Linked DNA regions of Homo sapiens: regions 2, 3, 4, 5, 6 and 7 are each linked to region 1. The links are contacts of gene promoters, found by promoter capture Hi-C in blood cells and fetal thymus (Javierre and others, 2016). All regions are on one chromosome and are shown on one strand. Each heading gives the region's core, a stretch centred on a gene start or on the middle of the fragment in contact. The rest is flanking DNA. Distances are from core to core; before and after follow the strand shown.

Region 1 (3,351 bases), core at 319-2,818:
TAAAGTTCTCTCTCTTTTCTTCAGCCTCTACGAAGATTGATAAAGGCATTTCCAGAGGCAAGTGAAATTCTTCCCCTCTCTGCTCGTTCTCCTCCAGGACCTCCTCTTCCTCTTCCAGCTCCTCCTCTTCCAGCTCCTCCTCTCCCTCCTCCACATATTCAGCCTCTTCGACCTCTTCTTCCTCCTCATCTTCGACCTCTTCCTCCTCATCTTCGACCTCTTCTTCCTCCTCGCTCGCCTCCTTTGCATCACACACCTCCTGGTCATACTCCTCCTCATCATCATTTTTCTTCTCCTCCTCTTCTTCCACCAGCAGCGGGGCAAGAGACTGGTTTTCCTCTGGGTTGGGACTGAATGCTAGAGAGGGATTCTGCACAAAGCCATACAGAGTTTCCTGCAGTCCCCAGGTTTCCTTGCTGCCGCCAGGGGGCGCGTCGTTTCCGGAGGATCTGGCTGGGGAGGCCTCGCCGCTCACCGTGGCCTTCTGCGCCCGCAGCGCCTCCTGCTGACGCTCCACCTTCTCCTGCTGCCTCATGTCCTCGTAGATCTGGTTCATGATGAATTGGGTGGTGTTGGGCGGCGCTCGCATGCCAGGCTCTCTCCACTCATACAGCTTGACCGGCCGCGGCAGCGTGCTCACATCCGCTGGCGGGCTCCGCGGGTAGGAGTGGCGAGGGTGGTGGCGCAGGCCGCGGCCTCTGCGGCCCCAGCGCTTCTTCCTGCCTGGGGGCTTCACCCAGCCAGGGTTCCAGGACCCGCTCCAGCAGGAGCAGCAGCAAAAGCAGAGAGGGTGCAGGCCATACACCCGAAACACTTGCACCGGGCAGGGGAATTTCCAGAATCCTGGAGGGGGTGGGCGCCAGGGCCCTCCCCAGCACCCCCAGTTAGAGCACACGGGTGGTTGGAACCAAAAGCCCGGGCCGTGCTGTTGCTTCGGCTGCTTCCTTGGGGGCCCATACTCGGTCTTGGGGCTATATCGGTGCGGTCTATTGTACGCTGGAGCACCCGGGCGCCTTCGATGGCAGGACGACCAGGAGCTCAAGGAGGCCGAGTGTGCCCAGCCACAGCCACAGCCGCCGCCGCCACCGCCGCCCAGGTTCAGAGGGTCTTCCCTTGTGTCGAGGGTCTGAGTCATGGTTCAGGGAGCTCCGAGAGGTCCAGATGGTAGCGACCTGAAGCTGTCGTCAAGTTTTGCCAGGTAGGACGGTCAGAAGAGCCTCGTCTCGTCAACCTGTCTCTCCACGCAGCGCCACGTGTCTACCCCTGGGATCACGTTTTCCTCTCCAGGAGGCTGCTCTCTTCCTGGTTTGCACGCTCTTCGGTAGTAATCGCTTGTCCTTCGCACCTGGGTTGTCTCGCCCAGGTGTGCTGGGTGGGACTGGGGCTGGGTAAGGATGGTGGGGGAGGAAGGTGTTGGCAGGCGACACGCAGTGAGACCCACTCCCGGGTCCCCACCACACCCGGCTCTGCTGAGGCACGGGCTGGGGCCGGGGGAGGCAGGGGTTGCGCAGTTACCTGCTGCTCCCTCTCAACCCAGGTGCTTCACTGTCGCCGTCCTGGCAGGACTGTGGTGGCGAGGGCAGCGGCAGCCTTTAAATACTGGCTGTGGTCTCCCGCGTGCCCACTGCGTTCTTGGTCACCCAGGGCAACAGCCAATTGGGGTCGAAATCGTCCTCCCTGTGTGCAAGGCCGGGTTCTGTCCGGAACCAGGCTCCAGGTGAACATTCGCAGGGGGCTTGTGACGCAGCGTTTGGGGGAGGTGAAGAGGGGTCCAGGCTGGGTTTCTGCTGCTCAATTCAAGCAAGTCTGGAGGCAGTTTATCCGAAAGCTTTGTATCACCTTGAGGCGGGGGTTTAGAAGATGGGCCTTCATCTGAACCCGGTGGGGGCGGGAGAACTTGAGTTTTGAAAACCCCACATTCTACACCTTTGGAGGGCCTAAGGGATCATGGAAAATTACTGGAGAAAGGAAACTTTGCCCAACCTCTTACCTTCTGGCCGGTGCCAACTCTTCTTACTCCTGAGAATTGGGATTCATAATACATAAAACAAGACCACGAACATTTATTATTGCATGTGCTCACTGACAAATAATCCTGTCATCTACCCTGAGAGGTAGGCGTATCTTATCACCTGTCACAGATGAGGGAACTGAGAGCTTAATTTCCCCATGGTTGTGGGGCTAATAAATTTCCAGGCTACGATTTAAGCCTAAACCTGTTTGACCCAAAAGTTAGGTTCCTAATGACATTGCTATGTGTTCTACCAAACCCCCAGTAGGACCCTTGTGATAACTAAATGACATAACATTTGGGAAGGTACTTTGCTATTGGTAATATACCGTACATGTGTACCTCAATTAAACAAATATTATTATTACCATAATGAATACCACAGGTTTGTCCTTGGGAAGAGGAATATTCTGATTGTCTTTCCTTTTGTCCCTTCACTGACCATACAGCATATACACGGGAAGCCTTTAAAGCATTGTGGTTAAGCATATGGGTTTTAATTTAAATAAATGGGATTCAACTTCAACTCACCAATTATTAATCTCTGTAAGCCTCAGTTTCCTTACCCATACCATGATTATACTACCTTTTCCATACGGTTGTGTAAAGAATTAAATGCATATAACAGGTCCTCTAATATTAATGTTTTGCTCAATGTCATTTCCTTATAACGTTGCTGAGGCAAAACAACAACAATAACAAAACCACGTTTCATTATATGTCTTCTCATTTAAAAGTAGCAGTTTCCAAGAACCTATGATGCTAAGTGAGGACTTACTGTAATTCCTTCAAGTACTTAGTGCAGGTACCCTGTAAGTACTCAGTAACTGTTAACTATCATCCTTATTTGTAAATACTTCATGACTTCTAAAAGAGATGATATAGTATATGTAAAGGCACTTGTTCTTGATGCAAAAATAGGCATCCCCACCCTGGCTTGTGTCCTTTTCTTGTCCTTCTTTGTAAAACGTCAAGGAAAGTGCTACCATACTTGGTCCTAGAGAAAACCGTCTCAGTTTATATCCCTTTCTTACTTTTCTGTGCTGAGTGGAATTGCACAAAATGGAAAACTGCCTGCTGGGAACTTCAGTCTATATAAGGCTCCATTAAATGCCAGAAAAGCAAAATGTGTGAAAGCCCTGAAGCTGGCAAAGGTCATTTATGCATTCCTGGCTGAAAATTGAGAACATTATAGGGGGTCTTGGATCAGGACTCCAACATTTGCCCTGAGACCTGTAGAATCCACAGGCTTCATTTAATTTCATTTGCTCTGTGGTTTGCTGAGGACACCCCTGCTTGACTCAAAGTACAGAATGCTGACATGTTTAGCCTGCAGTATC
Region 2 (3,351 bases), core at 502-3,001, 2.0 Mb before region 1:
CATTATTCTTTTTTTCCTTAGGGAGAGTTCAAGGCTCAGAATAAATCAAGTCCCTTTGTGTTAAGAAGCACATCAGCCTTTAACAAATGCAGAATTACTGGGAAAGGAGTAGTATACATAGGTAAGAGAAATGTAACCCTCTGATCTCTGTGCTGTGAATTTTTAAGCAAAGTCAGATAAATAGCTAAAGATATCAGAAAGTACTGGAATGTAAGACAGAGTGTTAGGACCCAGGGACATTGATTTATGTGAACCTGTGTCAAGGAGGATTTAAATTAAAATTGTTTGAGTCTTGAATCAATCATCCCAGCCTACCCTTGGGCATTCTTATTCATACCTTACAGTCTACCTGAGATGGTGCTTTTCATGCTCAAAATACTTTCATCATTAGCTTATTATTATTATGTATTTAATACATTAAATATAATATTTAATATTTAATCTTATTAAAAGAAAAATAAAAATCATGCCCAAAGTACATTTTGGTATTTTGAAACACAACCTAAGAATCTATTTTCCAGTCATCTTCCTGGAGCTAGCTGGATCATAGATTCAAGAATGGCTCTTGGAGGTCAAAGGTTCCAAACCATTCTCATTTTGTGAGAATAGTAAGTCACAGTCCATGATAGGATCTTGATACAACATTGCTAAATTCTACTGCATCCTGAATAGAGTGTGACATAATTGCCAGTATCATCCATATGGTTCCAAGTGAATCTTAACTGAATGCCAAAACCCAGAAGTTGTATGCTGAGTAGGTGTAAGATAAATGTCATTACCTGATCTGTGCAGTAGCCTCCCAGGCCTCTATGAGACATTAGTAGTGTTTGACTTGTTGTCATTAAAGACAAAAAAAGGAAACTTTATACAGTATGTAGTGGTTTTCCAGGTTCCACGCAGCACGCAGGTTGCAAAGTGAGCCCAGCCTTACACCTACCCCATTGCCCTCTCACTAATTATTCATCAAGCTTATTTCCCAATCTGACTCCTCATTTCCATAACCTATTTTCCTCTTCACCTTTCTACCTCTCTGCTCCAGTTTTTAATTTTTTTTCCTTTCTCATTCTCTAATGCAAAAGTACATTTTGTCCCTAGATAGCACATTTTATATATTCAGGTTAATATTATTAGACTAAAACATTCCTCTTTACTATCATTGATCCCTAAAGCAATCCTGAAATGGCAACCCATTTAAAGCAGAACTCCAGTCTAGATGCAAAGGCAAGAATCCCCCAGCTACAAAAGGGGTACACTTTTCATTGTATTTTCAATTCATGTTATTCATCTTAGAAGCTATAGAGCCTTTTAAGAGCCTTTAACTGTATTTCTAGTGTCAGAGAACATTTAACCAAAAAGGCAATCTCTTCCTTTACATTTATGTCAAATTAAGTACTTGGTGAAAGTAACAGCCCTGGACAGGGAATCATGTTCTCAGGTGCACGTTTCTAGCTTGATATTGGCTGTGGGCTCACAAGCAATTTATTAAATTTTTAAAGCCTTGGTTCCCTCATCTGTAAGATGGGAATCCTAAAATGCCTACATTACTATCACTGGGCAAGTAAATGACACAATACACAGTTCCTTGCACATAAGGAAGACTTAAGAAATTAGTCACATTATTATTAGCATTATTATTATCATTAATAATACATTAACATTTACATAATGAAAGATTCACCAGCTAAAAAATAAATCTCCATGCGATTGGTTCAGTGTCCAAAATACAGGCTGGAAAAGAGAATCAGAAGGCAGGTGCTGGTTTGTGAAACTACAAATCCCAGAGAATAACAAAGTGTGATGAATAAGTTACGTGGTTAATAAACGTAGTTTGTGATTTGGTTAAATACGTGCCCCATTCTCAGGGACTCGGAGAAGAAATTCTATTTTGATTATCCCAGTTTGAATAGGAAACACAAGATAAATGGTTGATTCTTTCCCTTTATTTACCAGTTTAGCACATCGAATGTGATTAATAAGTTCCATAAATCTATCTTAATTTATAGGCATTTTCATTTTATTCTCTTGATACCTATTTGTCAGAAAGACTGAATCATTAGATCTTTTGAGATCTTTAAAATTTCCCTCAGTCAGGATTTTTCTAATTGCATCCCTGTGGTGTCATTAGGAGATTCCCATGTTCTCTATTTTTTCTGTCAACTGTTAAATCTAAGGCATGATCCGATTCAGATTTGATATTTTTTTTGCAAGGCTACCTTAGAGATGATGCACTGTTCCATCAGAAGTCACGTTGTCTCTCTTTTATTTTATAAGCTGTAATTGATGCCATGGTCTTGAGCCCTAATGGGGATCACTGGGGCTGGGGAAGAATGAGAAAAATATTGCAATTCTATCATTTCTTCACTTATTTCTTAAAATATTTCTATAATGAGAAACTTTCCCTTGCTTTCCATTTGGTTACTTAATGGTACAACATAGGAAACATAGGGTAAATGCTTAATCCTTCTCCCAACTTCTAAATTTTAAAAAGAATAAATTGGTTCTCCGCATTCTGAAGCTAGTACATTTTGTTGATGGTAAGCTTTCTTTTTTTTTTTTGGATAAGTATTATTATGAACCCATTGATTTAAATGTATTTAGTATTAAAGTCATTGCAGCTTACATCTTTATTGATAATCAGATTGCTTCATCTTTTTATGAAGTTGCATTTATTGTAATATATGGATACAGGTCCAGTTACTGAAAGAATAATCAGACAAAAATCAGCAGATAAAAAGAAATTGTAAAAATGATGACTAAGAGTTTACGTAGTCTTATATATAAAACACTGCTCAAACAACTATAGAATATATGGTTTTTCTTGTATAATTGGAATTGTTTTCTCTTTTGCCAGTGGATCTTCTTTAGGTTGATTCCTGAATCTTTTTAACACTACCTTAATAGTGTTTAATAGCCTCCTTGGTAAAATATTTCAAACTCATCTTGTACATTTCCTGTCCCAGGAATTGTGGTTTGCTTTAGTGGGAAATAGTATTTCAGAATAAAAATCCGAGTGTTAGAGGGCTTATTACTCTTTGGTTAACCATGGTTTCTAGGCCTTTTCATTAGACTAAGCTAGGAATTATTTTTAAGATAAATCACATCAAAATCCCTACTATATCTTCCAATTTAAATTCAAGACTACAGGATTTTTACTTAACCTCTTCTATCTTATTTCTGTGTCTCCTTTCTCCTATTTTGAGGATGACAAACCTGGCTCTCAAGGACACAGGGATAACTGAATTAAGCCATCACATAGCTACTCATTTGTCTGTTTCCAGATTATCACACAATAGTGGTAGAATAAAACACCTACTCGACCTGCAGTATTACTACAGTCACGTTACTGGGTTT
Region 3 (3,351 bases), core at 319-2,818, 2.0 Mb before region 1:
TCAAGAGTAATTGTCAGACCTCTTCCAAAGTAGAAGAGATGAAGACATGCCTGGTTTCTTTTTGCAAAATCACCCATATGGTAAATCACTTCACCTCTCCAAGTGCTAAGTGAGTGGATATAGAGAGGTCAGGAAGGTTATACAAATGCAGATAGTTCCACTTAAAAGACAACAGCAGCAGTATGGAATATTTCCCTCTCAAATGAAACTAGAATTCACAGATGAAGAACAAAAACATTACTGTTATAACCTACAAGGCTGGTATCAGGAAATGTAGCTTACATCTGGCAGAGAAGTGGGTTTCATAATGTTGAACTCCGGAATTAGGCTGACTTACTCACAGTCAGTACTGGACCGATACAAGCTTCACACATGGGGAAAAGATTTTCATGACTAAGATTAATGTGGCCCATAATCTTGAGAGCAACTGGGAGCAGTGTCAGTTCCCAGATTCACTTGCCCAGTTCCAGACCCCAAATCAATAGTCAGGTTATTCTCTCCTTATTGGGAGGAGCGAGTGAGGGTGGATGGAAATGAAGTATCTGGAGCAAAAAAAAAAAAAAAAAAAAAAAGTTCTTCCTGACAATTTCCAGTTTTTATCTTAATCTACTGGGTTTAACCATTAAAAGTATAATCAGACAAGGAGAAGATCATTCTATTAGGGTAGCCCCATTCCTATGTTTACAAGGCCTCTTTCTAACACCAACCATTACTCCTTTGGGTTCTTCTTGGAACCACTGCTAATGTAGAGAGCACCCTCCAAAGTCAAGTGTAGAGTAAACTCTCAAAAGGTTCTGAACATGTCAGAGTGGTAAATTAGTTATGTTAGCTCCAAGCCCACTCCATATCAGTGCTGAAATTCACTGTCTATTTTGTCTAGCATCATTGTCCAATATGACTCATGAGAAATTAATATTCAAAGATTAAAGATATACCTGTCAAAAATCTAATTATTTTGCCATTGTGAGTTGAAGTTGAAATAAATGAGAAAGGAGAGTTTAAAGGGCAGCCTCTCTAATTTCTTATTCTACTCAGTCTACCAGCTAAAGGGGTTCTTAGCGGCACGGAAGAATTTAGTCTTTCAGAAGTTACATCTTGGACTGCACTCTTACAACTAATTTATTGCTTTCAAGGTCTCAAAATATGCATAATTTCAATAACACGTCTCACTTATTAAATGGCCTACAAGATTAATAGGACATGTAATATTATCACAGCATCTATTTCACACGTAAAAGATATAAGAAAAAATAATATCTACCAAATTATTTATTTCAGGCAAAATTATGTTCCTCAAACTGACTATTTTTAGTATCACACATCATAGCAAACCCCAATCATACCTGAGTTAAAAAAAATAGAGAGAAAAACTTGGTTTCAACTTCATCAGAATGCTAATAAATCTATGCCAGATGTTTAGTATCTACAAACTGTGAATTTAAAATCAAGTGGGAAAGATCTCCTAGCAAATGGTTAATGTAGGTCTATGCATTTGCCATTTGTGAGTTTCTAGGGGTGGGAGGCTTGGTCAGGAAAATTCATTTATGCTTATTGTTTTGTCACTCAGACTGTGGTATTTAAGATATTGCATCCTTCTTGCAATCTTTGGAAATTTTAATGGTGGCAGCCTATGAATCCAATTTGAGGCACCTTCTTTCCTGCCCAGAATATCCAACTGCTCACTCTTGTGAGCAGACACATCCATCCCAGTGCCCTCATAGGTTTTCTAATGCTGCTTGCTGTAGAATTGTGTAAGCCTGTAATATTGGCCTCCTAGGGAGGATTTTCCCCAACTCTTTAAATTCACTCATCCATAGAATTTGCCCTCAGCAGATTCCTGAAATGAAGCTATAGTTGTTTTCTGAAGTTGTGCCCCTAGGGCCATAATAAAGTCCAATAACTCAAATGCTCCTCAGGGGACTGTCTGTGTGTGTGTGTGTGTGCCCGCGTGTGTGCACTGGGCAAGTGAATTAATCCTCTCGTGTTTGATTTCATTCTATTATTCTTGTATGTCTTTTAGGAAGGTTCTAACCATCTCTCCTGCTTAATTTTCTCCCTTTCCTTCTCTACCTCATGAAGTACTATGATTTTGCTCGCCATGTCTTTTTGACAATTAAGAACAAACTGGTTTCATATCTCTTATTTTTAAAGAAATGCAAAACAGTATCTGGAGGAATATGTTTGAAAACAGAATGTCTGGGCCAGAAATCAAACTTTGAGCTTAAGTACCAATTGCTCAAACAAACCTTCCTCACCTTCACCTTCCTTGGTTGATGAATCTGAGCTCCTTTAGCTAAACTTTAACCTTTAACCAGGGCTGGCCTCAACTCACTGCACTACCTATTGAACCTTTAATATTTCCTCTTTGTTCTGCCTTCCTTTAGCATTTTAGATCCCTGATTTTCTCAGGAATGTTTACTCTCAGAATAAGCAATTCGTATATTCTCCACCTGTGGAATACGGTACCTTCAGACTCTCCCAGTCATTCTTTTAGTATGATGCTGATCTTTTTTTGCTCATTTGAAATTTGTCCAGATTTTCCTGCCACCACTCTAGATGGAGAGCTGTTACAATCTTTAAGGGGATCCAATTTTTAAACTACCCAGGGCAACATCTCAGTTGCCTCAGTATAAAAGACAAGACAGTAGCCAGTTGCTTTTCCTATATAATATTAAAAAGCTGCATCTCAACAGTGTCCCAAATCTGGCCTTCCCTGAAGCAATCATTCCAGTTTGCTTTCTAAAATTTTGCCTTCCTTTTTTGGGCCCCAATCAAAGCTTCTGACAGGGCAGTGCCGTCCTTCTCTTCTAATGCCTTCCATGAGCACTTGGTTTGGAATTCATCTCCATTTTCCTTAATATTTTTATATGCCTTATCCTTAAAATTTTCATTGTCTATTTTATAAAAGCAAGACTATTTCCTAGAGTCTACACTGTTTTCCTAAAGGAATTTCTCCTCTTCTAGCTAAGTTAGCCTATCTTTCAGTTTATGTGTGTGTGTGTGTGTCTGTGTGTGTGTGTGTTTTACTATGCCATGTGTCTCAAGCCTCTCCAATTTACCCTTGAATTCCTAATCAAACCAAACTAATAATCTACTCTCAGCATGAAATTCTGCAATTGTCTTCCTATTTAGTCGGCAATAATTTCCTTGAGTTCTTAGATTCCCTCAAAATGGCCTCTTTTTCTGGTGCCTGATCCTTCTTTTGTTTAAAAGTAATAATATCTACCACAGATTGGGTTTCAATTCTGGTCTGAACTTACGTTATTTTCAAGCCCAAAGCCAATATGAAAACATGACGAAAAATGTTTAACAACTGTCTGGCAGGGAGAAGAACCCTGATTTGTAGGGTTT
Region 4 (3,351 bases), core at 453-2,952, 1.7 Mb after region 1:
TTCTGGGATTGCAGGCGTGTGCCACCACGCCCAGCCCTGGTTTCTGCTATTACAGATGGGAGTTAGTGCTCACCTACCCCATGCTCCCATTGTAAGTGTGTCACTATTTTAAGCAAATGCATTTTTCTAGTATGATGATTATTTAAATACTGTTCCTGGAAAGGCCAATCTGTTTGCTAAGAATAAAGCCTAAATGGGAACCTAAAAGTGGAAAAACAAAGGCTGGGAAATAACATGGAGCTATGAATAAGATTAAAGTACATACTCTACCAAAAAAAAAAAAAAAAGAGTATTTCTCTGGTTCCATGAATAAACCATTGCTTAAATCATTCTCAAACTATAATGTGTATAAAATTCACCTGGAATCTTGTCAAAATGCAGATTCTGATGCAATAGTTCTGGGTAGGGCCTAAGATTTTGCGTTTCTGACAAACTCCCAGGTGACACCAATGCTGCTATTCTATGAACTACAGTTTCAACAAGGTCTTACCCGACGGCTTCCAAATTTCCTTCTCCTTTTCCTTCTCCATGGAGAGCCCTCTTCAGAGGGACTCTTAAGAATTATCTCATCCTATTCCATTTATTACTCTACAGGGAGAGGCAACCTAACCTGGCTTTAACCATAACTACTTGCACAATGAGGAGGAGCAGATTTCCCATCTCTGATTCGCAGATGGGAAACACTGTGGCAGGTAAGGGATTTCATCAGGGCTGCATGGCAAGTAGCTGAATTCCGTAACATATGAAGAATTGCTTCCATTTCTACATTTCTTGTTAAAAGACTCAGAGGATGTTGAGCACTTAGAAACAAGCTGAAGAGCATGTCTGGCCTGAGCCCGATGAAAGTCAGAGTCAATAGCGTAAGCAAAGGACCAGGCACATTCCCTGTTCCTTTCCCTGGTCTCTGCTTCTCATTTCTTAATCTTTGCTCATACTCAACCAGGCTACCAGCAATCTGGAGACACATATGGATGGAAAAGATGCCAAGGGAAGCCCTCCCCTCCTTCCATGATTACTGTCCTTCATTGCAAAAGAAACTCTTTTTAAATATGCCTGGAAAGCAGTACCTGTTGTTTTTTATGTGGGTAAAGGCCAGTGGTATGCTACAAATGTTTAACAACTGACCATCAAAAAAAAAAACAAAACAAAAAGAGGCCCTCTTTTGTAGCATTTGCCAGTTTCCATGGTGTAAATACTCTCACTCTGGCCAATATCAAGCTTCCAACATGACTTTACTGAACATGGAATTAGAAAGATATGAGGCCAGTGACTCTCACAAGCTAGTATGAGCCGGCCGCAGTTCATCATGATAAAGCCTATAATTTTATCATCAGGCAAAATTAAAACTGTAGATTCAGAAAAGATTTACACCTGTTTGATCAACCTTCTCATCATCACGTCCCTTTACTACCAAAGTAAGTTGACCTGCCATTGCTCTTTAACAGTTGGTAGTTTTTCTTTAATGCAAGGTATTTAGCAGAAACCACCACATAAATTAAGCCCTTGTCCTATAGATAGCTTTTACAAAGAGCTTTCCTTGATCCCTATTGAATTATTGCCCTGGACCAGAGAAATACAATGCCCTTCCCAACAGTTTAATGTATTTAGTAACCCTCTGGAAAGAGAAAAATAACAAAACAAAACATTACAATTTTACATGTTGAAATTAAAATGAATCAAAACTTTTTTTTTTTTTTTGAAACAGGGTCTCACTCTGTTGCCCAGACTGGAGTGTAATGGCCCATTCATGCCTCACTGCAGTTTCAACCTCCTGGGCTCAAGCAATCCTCCCGCCTCAGCCTCTTGAGTAGCTGGGACTACAGGCACATGCCACCATGCTCAGCTAATTTTTTGTCTTTTTAGTAGAGACAAGGTTTCACCATATTGCCCAGCCTGGTCTTGAACTCCTGGGTTCATGTGATCTTCCCACCTTGGCCTCTCAAAGTGCTGGGATTACAGGCATAAGCCATCACACCTGGCCCTCGAACTTTTTATTATGTTCTAGTTATACATTGTATGAAACTTTTTCAGGCATTGAAATAAATGCCTTTATACCACTTAAAGGAAATGAGAAAATTTTTTGTACAAGAACAAAAAGATCATATGGCTGTGTTGAATGACAATATTTCTTAAAAATTTATTAGTGATCAATTTCTATTCATTTAAGAATAGTTTGAAGTTAAAATGTAAGCTTTAGGAGATATGTATTCTTTGACAGATTTTAAGGGTTATGGAAATCAAAACAAGTTTGGTAAGTGGCTATAGTAGATTGCCAAAATTTTCACAAATTATTCCCTTCCTTAACAGCTACGTCCTTTGCAATATAGCTTTGCAATTTCTCCCATCAACAGGTGGAGTTGGTCTTGTGCCTTCTTTGGCCAATGGAATGTGACAAAGCAGCATTGCAGTTCAAGCCTAGGCTTTAAGAGACCTTTTGGGATTTCCTAATTGCTACAAAAAAAACCTGACACCAGGTGAGTAAACCCAGGGTAGCCTACTGGGGGATGAGAGACCACCTGGGACAAAGATGAACCATCCCAGGTAAGCTTTGTACCCCAACCACCACGACACACCAGCCAGGCTCCAGCTGACCTAGCACCTTCTCACACCTGAGCCCAGCTCAAATCGCCAAACCACAAATTCTTCCAAAATGGGATGTTGATTTACACCAGGGGTATCCTATCTTTTGGCTTCCCTGGACCACAAGGGAAGAATTGCCTTTGGCCACACATAAAATACACTAAGGATAGCTGATGAGCTTTAAAAAAATTGCAAAAAAAATCTCATAATGTTTTAAGAAAGTTTGCAAATTTGTGTTGGGCCACATCCAAAGCCATGCTGGGCTGCATGTGGTCCCGTAGGCCATGGGTTGGACAAGCTTGATTTATGCCATTGAGCTTTGTAGTGCTTTAATAGCTAAAACTAATTGATATAGTCACCTATATCAGGAAATACTCAAAATACACCCCAACCATATGCTGTATGTAGACCTTTTTGGAGGCTGATTGAAACCAAACCAACTTCTTAAGATAACTGAGGAAATTTAAAATGGTATGAGTATTAGACAATATTGAGGAATTATTGCCCCTTTTGTGAGATGTGGTAATGATATTGTACTTATGTTTTTAAAAAGTCCTCATCTGTTAGGGACATACAAAATTTATACATGCATATATGAAATAAATATGTACCTACACACATACATAAACACATACACGCTGAAATATTTAGGGGTGAAATAACTTTATGCTTGGAATTTGCTTTAAAATACTCCAGCAATTAAAAAAAAAAAGAGCAGGAAGCAGGGCATAGAAGAGAGGAAAATAGGCGAAATGTAACGGTGATAATGTT
Region 5 (3,351 bases), core at 569-3,068, 1.7 Mb after region 1:
CTAAACTTGATAAATGAAGAAATATAAGCATATTGCCTATTAATAAAAATGTAAATCACAGAAAAAATAACTAGAAGTAGAAAGAGGTTTCCTCTGAGCAGTGGACTTGAGATAGGAAATGGTAGATCCAGAGATGGCTGTTTTTTGTAGGTTTGTAGTCATTTTAAAACCATATATATAAAAACATTATATACATAAGCTATATTATATATATTTTTTATAAAAATTAAAATAAGTATAGAAATTTTTGCTAGAAAAATCTCTTTAAATTTGCGTTGCTATTATTACTAACTCTTTGTGCCAGGTATTTGGCTTTTTCTGTTACATAGTCAACCGTATTTAATTTTTTCACTCCCTCTCTCTCACTCTGACAGATACACAAACTTAATACTCTACATAGGTTATATCACTTAATCTTCACAATATAAGAATTCTTATTTAGATGAGTTTCCAGATAGCTGATGATGAAAATAGTCCCCTAAATCCAAATCTTCCTAAATTTCCTCCAAAAGCAATATGAAATAAAAACAAATAAAACTATTCAAAACCCACACCTTCAGCAAATAGAAGATAGAAAATGCCCAAACCTCAAATTACCTATACATAGAAAAAGCAACACCAAATCCCAAGGAATTATCTCTCAACCTCCTGCAAGTCCTAGTAGAGAGCAAGAGCTGACTAGAAAAAGTGCACAGAAAAGTGGAACTGGCAGAAAGCCTAAGACTGATGTAACTCACCTCCAGAAAGAGCAAATCTACTCTAAGGGCATCAATCCTGAAAGATATCTGGAAGCTCAGAGCAGTGGTCACAGGGAGGGACATTAAGAGTGTGTGCCATTCTAGGTGGCAGTGCTCAAAAGATATCACTTACAGTGGAGAAAAAGCAAATTTGAGTAAATAAATAAGTAGAATGCAAATAAAGGAAGCCAGGTTTCTCACTGTCCAAAAAAGGAGGTACAAATCCAAAATGAACCTTGCGGAATTGGACTGGAATTGGAGGTACTATGACTTTGCATATACGTGGATAGAAAGATATAGAAAATGATATGGAAGTGTGTGTGTGTGTATATATACATATACACACACATATATGTACGTGTGTGTATATATATATCAGTCTATGTATATATAATCATATATATATATATCATCAGTGTGTATATATATAAATATACTTTTGCACCAGAAAGTAAGAAAATGCTTAAAGAATGACAGCAACGTGCCAAAACAACACAGGACTCAGACTGAGAAGACATCACTGGCCAAATCTGAGAATAATTTGAGCAAAAATAAATAATGACATAATAATGGTTATAATGGAAAAGATCTGCCTTGCATTAGAATGCAAATAATAAATCTGGAAAGAATAATAGAAGTTATAAAATCAACATGTGGCAACCATCAGAGTAATAATTGATTGCCACAGATTGTCAATGGATGCTAAAACTTGTGAAAGCTTGATGAGAATAGGATATTTTGGTAAATGTTCTCAAAGTATCTCCCCACAAGACAATTATTGCAAAGGAAAAAAGTGGTAGTTTCATAGTGGAGAAACCTGGCAGATACCATCTTGATACATCAGAGTTATCAACAGTTGTGGGACAAACTGACTTATATGGAAGGGCTAAAAAGAATTTAATGCAAAAATGCATAACCTCAAAAACATCAGAAAAAGCCAAATTGGGAGGTATTCTATAAAATAAGTGGTCAATTCTCTTCAGAATGTCAAGGTCATAAAAGCAAATAATTCCTAAGAAATTGTCATAGATTAAAAATCACTAAAGCTAGCAGGTGATCCTCAACATTATTGGGGCAATTGACAACATTTAATTAGATAATAGTATTACATCAATGTTAATTTCCTAATTTTGATAACTCTTCTGTGGTTATATACCAAAAAAAAGTGTATTTATCAGAAATACACACTAACATACTTAGGGGTAAAGAAAATTCTGTAATTTACTTTCAAATGGTTTGAAAAATATATAAACACAGATACAGAGAGACTGAGAGAATGACAAAGTAAATGTAAGTATTATTAACAACTGGAACATATGGGGTGCAGTACACAAGGATTCTTTGCACCATTCTTGCAACTTTTCTATAAGTTTGAAATGATCGCAAAATTAAAACATTTTTTAAATAAAGGAAAATTATTTAAAAATCTTCATTTGGCAAGAAAGAAAGCTTTAAATTAGGTTGGGTTCTGCACGTGGTTGCACAGGTAGTAGGCCAGAAAGCAAGGAGTTGAAACCAAATCTGCCCCTTGCTCTTAGCCACCACAGCATACTGCCTACTCACAGACAGCCAAGTCCACATATTAGAAAGTTTCATTCATATTAAATGTCCATAATAGGCAAATATATAGAGACAGAAACTAGATTAGTGGTTGCCTAAGGCTGGGAGCAAGAGAGGAAATGGGAAGATGAGAGAGTGATAACTAAAGGATGCAGGATTTCTTTTCAGAGTGATAAAAATATTCTACAATCGATTATGGTGATGGTTGCAAACTCTATGAGTATATTAAAAACCATTGAATTGTACACTTTAGGTAGATGAATTACATGGTATGTAAATTATATGCAATATGAATCACATCTTAATAAAGCTGTTACCAAAAAAAAACCCAAAATTTACAAACGCTGAGAACTTTGTATTTCTGAATAACATTGTGACATTCAACTCTATTTCATACACAAGTAACTTCTTCGGAACAAGAAAGAATCATGCTGATGAAACCAACCCAATAGTCCCATAGGCAGTTTTTTTCTTGGAAAAACATAAAAATTGACCCTTTGGGTCTTCATGTTTGAAATTTCATTTGTTTTATCTGAGTTCCTTCTTCAGGAAAGGACTCCCAGACCTCTCAAAAAGTATCAAAAAATTAAAACTCACCAGATCATCGTATCCAGACAATGAGACACCAGACCCCTCATTCATCATGATTGCTTCCTTGCCCCTCCCTAGTTCCTGTTTTCCCATACATTTCTTCCCTGCTATATAAACCCCTAATTTTAGTCAGTCAGGGAGACGGATTTGAGACTGATCTCCCAACTCCTTGGCTGGAGCACCCAATTAAAGCCTTCTTTCCTGGCTATGTTCATCGTCTCAATTATTGGTTTTCTGTGTGGTGGGCAGCAGGACCTAGGCCAAATCCCTGGTGTTTTGGTAACACTGGCACCAAAAATAACGGTGAACTGCTGCACCATTCATCATTAAAGCACAGAGCAGCCCTTGACTGAAGCTTGAGATCAACAAACCACATATAGAAGGTGACTGACAATATGTCTGCCTAGAAGGTGAGTCCCATGGCACCTGCTCAGCCTTTTGAGGATCATTCTACATAAAGCTA
Region 6 (3,351 bases), core at 433-2,932, 1.5 Mb before region 1:
GACTTACTTCCCTACCATAAACAACCATACAACTGCCAAATATATGAAGCAACTGTTTTTAGGAACTAGGCAAGAGACAGCATAGGGTTACAAATCTTGACAGATGGGAAACACATGAGATAAGCACAAAATCTGTCCCAGATTTCTACATAGGAGCACTTTCTAAATCTTAGTACATGGAAGTAGAGCCCAAGGAGATAACAGCAGTCTCACTGGGCACAGGAAACAGAAATCAGAACTCAGGGCTGCTAATGGGCTGAAATTTTGAAGACAGGGTACAAGAGAAGATTTACGAAAAGCAGAATCCCCAAAAATTCTGCATTGGAAAAAAAATTTACAAGGAACCCCCTTGTATATAATACAATTCCCTTTGTATTGTCAAATACAAAGCTGCCCGTGCAAAGGCAACAAGGCTTGGCAGAGAACAACTACTGGGAGGCTGTGAACAGAGCAAAGATTACAGAGGTTACACAGAACTGAGAGATGCTCAAGCTCTGACCAGCCTTTTCTGAATACTCCAGGTATTCATTTGAAATTCTAGAAGGGCCAGTGGCACTACAGCCCATGAGTAAAGACTACACTAGATCCACCCTACACAGGCTAAATCCAAGCCTCAACAGAATCTCTTTATCTCTTTGGGCAAGCAGAAAGTTAATTTCATACCAGAACAAAACTTAACACTCTTTAGACAACGACAGCATAATCTAAACTCAAAAATTTAGCCATGTTTGGACATACAATTAAAAAATCACAGGACATATGAAGCAGCAGAAAAATTTGACCCAGATATGGCATAGATGTTGGAATTAGAGCTGTAAAACAATTATTATAAATATGTTCAAGGATTTAAAGGAAAAGACGGGCATCATGGGCAAACCAATGGAGAATCTCACCAGAGAAATGGATACAGTTAATTGGATCCTACAGCAGAACAGACCAGTGAACTTGAGGATAAGGCAATAGAAATTATACAAACTAAGCACAGGGAGAAAAAATGGAAAAATATGAACAAAGCCTCAAAAAACTGTGGGACAATATCAAGTGGTCAAACATACATGAATCTGGAGCTTCAGAAAGAGATGAGAAAGAAATTAGGGAAGAAAAATATATGAAGAAAGAACAACAATTTTTACAAATATGATGAAAAAATATCAATCCATAGATCCAAACAGTTCAGTGAACCATAAGAAAAATAGATAAAACCATACCTAGGCCCATTATGGTCAAATTGCTGAAAATAAAAGATCTGAGAGCAGCAGAGAAAAAAGATACATTATATATAGGGGAATTACATTAAAATGATTGCTGGCTTAACATTAAAAAATGCAAACTAAAAGACAATAGAATGACATCTTAGTCCATTCAGGCTGCTATAACAAAATACTGCACACTGGGTAGCATATAAACAACAGAAATTTATTTCTCACAGTTCTAAAGGCTAAGTTCAACATCAGAGCACCAGCAGATTTGGTGTCTAAGGAGGGCCTGTGATACAATTTGGCTGTGTACCCACCCAAATCTCATCTTGAATTATAGTTCCCATAATCCTCACTTGTCATGGGAGGGACCTGGTGGGAGGTAATTGAATCATGGGGGTGGTTACCCTAACGCTATTCTTTTTTTTTTTTTTTTGAGATGGAGTTTCGCTCTTGTTGCCCAGGCTGGAGTGCAACGGCTCACCTCAACCTCCACCTCCCAGGTTCAAGCAATTCTCCTGCCTCAGCCTCCCATAGCTGGGATTACAGGCATGCTCCACCACGCCCAGCTAATTTTTTTTTGTAATTTTAGTAGAGACGGGATTTCTCCATGTTGGTCAGGCTGGTCTCAGGTGATCCACCCACCTTGGCCTCCCAAAGTGCTGGGATTACAGGTGTGAGCTACCATGTCCGACATGCTATTCTTTTTATAATGAGTGAGTTCTCACGATATTCGATAGTTTTATAAGGGGCTTTTCCCCCTTTTGCTCAGCACTTCTCCTTGCTGCCACCATGTATTTGCTTCCCCTTCCACCACAATTTGTAAGTTTCCTGAGGCCTCCCAGCTCTGCGGAACTGTGAGTCAATTAAACCTCTCCTTTATAAATTACCCAGTCTCAGGTATGTCTTTATTAGTAGTGTGAGAACAAACTAATACAGCCTGTTTCCTGGCTCATAAATGACACCTTCTTGCTGTGTCCTCACATGGTGAGAGGCAAGGGTCTCTCTGGGGCTTCTTTTATAAGGGCATAAATCCCATTCATGAAGGGTGTGCTTCATGAGCTAATCACCTCCCCAAGGCCCCATCTTTTAATACCCTCACCTTTGGGGTATGGATTTCAACACATGAATTTTTTGGGAGACACAAACTCAGACCATAGTAAATGACATCATTAAAGCACTAAAAGAAAAAATTATCTGCCAAACTAGAATTCTACATCTCAGCAAAAATATCCTTTACAAAGGATAAACAAGAAGTTGAGAGAAGTCATCCATCACCAGGAGACCTTCACTACAAGAAATGGTAAGTGCAGTGTTTTAGGCAGAAAAGAAATGATATCAGATGGAAACTTGGATCTACACAAATGAATAAAGAATGCTGGAAGTAGCAAATATGGGGGTAAATATAAAAGACTTTTTTGTTTCTTATTTTCTTTAAAGAAAATTGGCTGCTTAACATATTGTGAGCTTACGCCATATGCAGGTGTAAATGGTCAAGAAGTAAATGGAGATATAGTTCTATAAGTTCTAACATTATACATAAAACAGCATAAAATTAATTCAGGAGTAGACTGTGACAAGTTAAGGATACATATTGTAATCTCTAGAGGTTACCACAAAACAAAAAAGACAAAGAGTAAAGCTAAGAATAAAATAGATGAGTAGAATACTAAGAAATAGTTGATTAATCCAAAAGGAGAGAGGATAAAGAAATAAACATGTGGGACAAATGGGATAAAGAGAAAACAGTAAGATGGTAGACTTAAATCCAATCACAGGACTGATTACATAAATTTAAACAGACTAAGAACTCCACTTAAAAAGCAGAGATTTTCAGACCCAACTACTTTGAAATAAAAGGACGTTCTTTTTAAGTTTACTACACAACATACATTTAATAGATGATAGTAGCTATCTATATTAGCAACCCCCAAAACTATGTGCAAATATGTGAAATGACTTTTGAATATCAGCTGACAGTGGCTCCAGTATAATCCCTAGGGGGAGGACTGGCATGTGAGGATAGTTAATAGCTGACATTAATTGGCACTTTACATTCATTAACTCATTTAATCTTCACAGTGACCTTATAAGGAAGGCACTTCCATTGTACTCATTTTATATGAGAGCAGACTAATGCCCAGAGAATGTGATG
Region 7 (3,351 bases), core at 481-2,980, 1.4 Mb before region 1:
ATAATTCAGATTACCTTCATATAGAAATCCTTGGATTTTTCACTTATTTCAGAAGTCCTTCTCTGTATTTTCTACCTCCATTATGTCCTACTATAAAGTCCATTACTGAAAATAAACTCAGCTTTCTAGTTTTACCTGGTGCCATGACTTTGTACTTCATGCTGCATTTCCAGGTTCATGCTTGCCTTTGGGTCACAAAAGAAACACCAGACTGCTTTATTTGGGGGAAAAATAGGGAAATCTAAAGAAATCTATGAGAATGAGTTCTTTCTAAATATTTTTAAGAAAAGAAAAATAAAAGGCAATCCCCAGACATACATCCATAAACGTAGATGGGGCCTGGCATAATGGCTCACTGTAATCTCAGCACTTTGGGAGGCCAAGGCAGGTGAATCACTCGAGTCCAGGAATTTGAGACCAGTTTGGCCAATATGGTGAAACCCTGTCTCTACTAAAAATACAAAAATGAGCCAGGCGTGGTGGCGTGCACCTATAGTACTAGCTACTTGGGAGGCTGAGGCACGAGAATCACTAGAATCCAGGAGATTGGGGCTGTAGTGAGCTGAGATCGCAACACTGCCTTCCAGCGTGGGTGACAGAGTAAGACTGTCTCAAAACAACAATAAACCTAGATGGAAGTGAGGGAGAGGGTTGTACAATAAAAAGACAATATTCCAATCTTGACTAGACAAACTTTAATACTGTAATATGGTCAGAAGTAGTTTGTACTATGCAAGCACTGCATAATAATACAATTAACTGACAGCACTAACTTAAAATCCCTTTGCCTTGAATGAGGAAATAACTAAGCATATTTGCTTTCTAGCTGATACTAAGTAATTAGCTTGCTAGTATAAGCTGGGTCTAAAGGAGCTGTGGGTGCTTTAAAAAGTAATCTTTAGTAATGACAAGCTGAAGAAATTGAATTTAATTTATTCAAATTTCACATGTCTTTGAGGACTGGCAATAACAACAACAGAAACCTTTACTGAATTGGTACCATGGGCCTAGTATTTTTCAATACTGCGTAAGTATCAAGCCCAGGCACGGTGGCTCATGCCTGTAATCCCAGTGCTTCGAGAGGCCAAGGCAGAAGGACTACGATAGGCTAGGAGTTCAAGACCAGCCTCAGCAATATAGCGAGGCTCTCTACAAACAATTTAAAAAATTACCTGGGTTTCGTGGTGCATGCCTGTAGTCCCAGCTACTCCAGAGGCTGAGGGAGGCGGGCGGCTGGAGCTTGACCAGGAGGTCAAGGCTGCAGTGTGCTGTAACTGCATCACTGTACTCCAGACTAGGCGCCTTTATAAGTATTACTTTATTTAATCCTAACAACAAGGCAGATAAATATCATTATCTCTATTTTACAGAAGAGGAAACGAGGCTTAGTGAGGTTAGGTAACTGGTCAAGGTAATATAGATGAAAAGTGAAAAGAGCTCAATTTTTAACCCAGTTTTATAAGATTCCAAAGCCTAGGCTTTTAACCAATAAACCAGTGCTTCTCAAAGCAAAGGGAATTTATGAATTATCTTCATTACAGTTACTGGGATCCTTGTAAAAAAGACGTTATTTCTAGTAAATTATACATTATTTGGGGTGAGACCTGGGAATATAAATTTTTGACAAGTTTCTCACTGAATTCTGATGCACATTGAAATTTGAGAAACACTGCACTCTGTTACTACCTCTCAGTGTATACACTAAATTAGTTTAGCTTTTGTAATTTTTCAGCTTTTATAAATTTAGTAATTTTTTAAGCTATAATAGGAGAAGCTCCACAAAGTACCACATAGGCTGCCATCAAGAATTTGAAAAAAAAAAAAAAAAAGAATTCTTGGCAAACTTTTATTATGATTTCACTGCAGGGAAAGTAACTAAAAAGTTCAAATTTCAGTCTGCTTCTATTCAGTCAAAAAAGGAAAGATTAACTTGTTCTTTACCATCATTTGTTGTACAAGCACACCACATGTTACAGGATTGAATCAATGACAGGATAACCTTGAAGGAAATAGAGGGGGAAGTAACAACTTCAATGTTAAAATTATGTAATTTTCAACAGAAACTTCTAAAGTACAGCTCAGATTCTGCAAACCCTGTGAAAATACTTTAACAGGCTTTTACTGTTTGTTTAAACTTTAATGTGGCCCTCTGCGAAAGGGATGACTGGCCTAATGGAAAAGGGTATGGTTCTGAAATCAGACTCAAACCAGGCTCTATTAGGCTAGAGGTCCCCAACCCCCAGGCTGCGAACTGGTTCTGGTCCATGGCCTATTAGGAACTGGGCTGCACAGCAGGAGGTGAGCGGCAGGCAAGCAAACCTTAAGGCTTGAGCTCCAGCTCCAGTGAGATCAGCAGCGGCATTAGATTCTCATAGGAGTGTGAACCCTGCTGTGAAAATTGTCTTCCATGAAGCCAGTCCCTGGTGCCAAAAAGATTGGGGACCACTACTAGGCTCTGCTGCCTACTAGCTTTATAGTTTTGGGCAAGTTACTGAAATTTCAGCTTCCGCAACCATAAAAAGGGATGACAACACTTCACAGGCTATTTTGTTTTCTCCCATCCTCTTCCCTCTCATCACCTTTCCACCCATCCTGTGAAACCTAAGAGCCCCTATAATATGGTTTGGACTTATGACCCCACCCAAATCTCATGTTGAATTGTAATCCCCAGTGTTGGAGGAGGGGCCTGGAGGGACATGATTGGATCATAGGGGCAGAATTCCCCCTTGCCGTTCTCGTGATAGTGAGTGAGTTCTCACAAGATCTGGTTGTTTAAAAGTATATAGCACCTCCCCTTCTCTTCCTCCAGCTCTGGCCATGTAAGATGTGCCTGCTTCTCCTTCACCTACTGCCATGATTGTTAAGTTTCCTGAGGCCTCCCCAGCCATGTTTCCTGTATAGCCTGTGGAACTGTGAGCCAATCAAAACTCTTTTCTTTATAAGTTACTCAGTTTCATGTATTTCTTTTTTTTTTTTTTTTTTTTTTTTTAGACGAAGTCTTACTCTGTCGTCCAGGCTGGAGTACAGCGGCATGATCTCGGCTCATTGCAGCCTTTGCCTCCCGGGTTCAAGCAATTCTCCTCCCTCAGTCTCCCAAGTAGCTGGGACTACAGGCGCCTGCCACCACACCTGGCTAATTTTTTATTTTTAGTAGAGACGGGGTTTCACCATGTTGGCCAGGCTAGTCTCAAACTCCTGACTTCAAGTGATCTGCCTGCCTCAGCCTCCCAAAGTGCTGGGATTGCAGGCATAAGCCACTGCGCCCGGCCTCAGGTATTTCTTTATTGCAGTAGGAGAACAGACTAATATATCCTACCTTCTAAGAGTCTACTAAGAAAAAAATCCACATGC

Evidence for each region. The method cuts DNA at HindIII sites, captures the fragments that hold promoters and counts their contacts. A CHiCAGO score of 5 or more calls a contact.
Region 2: a fragment that was not itself captured here is called in contact with the fragment with the promoter of CCER1 in region 1 in 6 of 17 cell types (naive CD8 T cells, M2 macrophages, total CD4 T cells and 3 more); the score reaches 8.6 in naive CD8 T cells.
Region 3: a contact is called between a fragment that was not itself captured here and the fragment with the promoter of CCER1 in region 1, in 4 of 17 cell types (M0 macrophages, M2 macrophages, naive CD8 T cells and 1 more). The highest score is 8.0, in M0 macrophages.
Region 4: a fragment that was not itself captured here is called in contact with the fragment with the promoter of CCER1 in region 1 in 3 of 17 cell types (total CD4 T cells, non-activated CD4 T cells and naive CD8 T cells); the score reaches 12.5 in total CD4 T cells.
Region 5: a fragment that was not itself captured here is called in contact with the fragment with the promoter of CCER1 in region 1 in 1 of 17 cell types (naive CD4 T cells); the score reaches 5.0 in naive CD4 T cells.
Region 6: a fragment that was not itself captured here is called in contact with the fragment with the promoter of CCER1 in region 1 in 3 of 17 cell types (naive CD8 T cells, monocytes and M0 macrophages); the score reaches 8.4 in naive CD8 T cells.
Region 7: a contact is called between a fragment that was not itself captured here and the fragment with the promoter of CCER1 in region 1, in 1 of 17 cell types (total B cells). The highest score is 5.5, in total B cells.

The regions. Positions count from the first base shown.
Region 1 is chr12:90,953,608-90,956,958 of GRCh38, forward strand. It overlaps CCER1 (coiled-coil glutamate rich protein 1), which reads right to left and starts at 1,569. Exons shown (of 1, transcript NM_152638.4): 1 at 1-1,569. The coding sequence starts at 1,135. RefSeq lists an enhancer at 478-577. The HindIII fragment of the contact is 2,103 bases long and covers 1-1,826 here.
Region 2 is chr12:88,971,454-88,974,804 of GRCh38, forward strand. No RefSeq gene overlaps it. Among named protein-coding and RNA genes, the nearest start is that of LINC02458, 47 kb to the right of the region's middle. The HindIII fragment of the contact is 1,571 bases long and covers 967-2,537 here.
Region 3 is chr12:88,998,310-89,001,660 of GRCh38, forward strand. No RefSeq gene overlaps it. Among named protein-coding and RNA genes, the nearest start is that of LINC02458, 20 kb to the right of the region's middle. The HindIII fragment of the contact is 2,413 bases long and covers 363-2,775 here.
Region 4 is chr12:92,657,847-92,661,197 of GRCh38, forward strand. No RefSeq gene overlaps it. Among named protein-coding and RNA genes, the nearest start is that of PLEKHG7, 43 kb to the right of the region's middle. The HindIII fragment of the contact is 973 bases long and covers 1,217-2,189 here.
Region 5 is chr12:92,640,177-92,643,527 of GRCh38, forward strand. The region is part of intron 1 of LOC124902983 (a long non-coding RNA gene); the gene reads right to left. Among named protein-coding and RNA genes, the nearest start is that of PLEKHG7, 61 kb to the right of the region's middle. The HindIII fragment of the contact is 731 bases long and covers 1,454-2,184 here.
Region 6 is chr12:89,481,310-89,484,660 of GRCh38, forward strand. All of the region lies in intron 4 of POC1B-DUSP6 (POC1B-DUSP6 readthrough), which reads right to left. The region is part of intron 4 of POC1B (POC1 centriolar protein B); the gene reads right to left. Among named protein-coding and RNA genes, the nearest start is that of GALNT4, 42 kb to the right of the region's middle. The HindIII fragment of the contact is 6,655 bases long and covers 1-3,351 here.
Region 7 is chr12:89,511,439-89,514,789 of GRCh38, forward strand. The region is part of intron 2 of POC1B-DUSP6 (POC1B-DUSP6 readthrough); the gene reads right to left. The region is part of intron 2 of POC1B (POC1 centriolar protein B); the gene reads right to left. Among named protein-coding and RNA genes, the nearest start is that of GALNT4, 12 kb to the right of the region's middle. The HindIII fragment of the contact is 9,701 bases long and covers 1-3,351 here.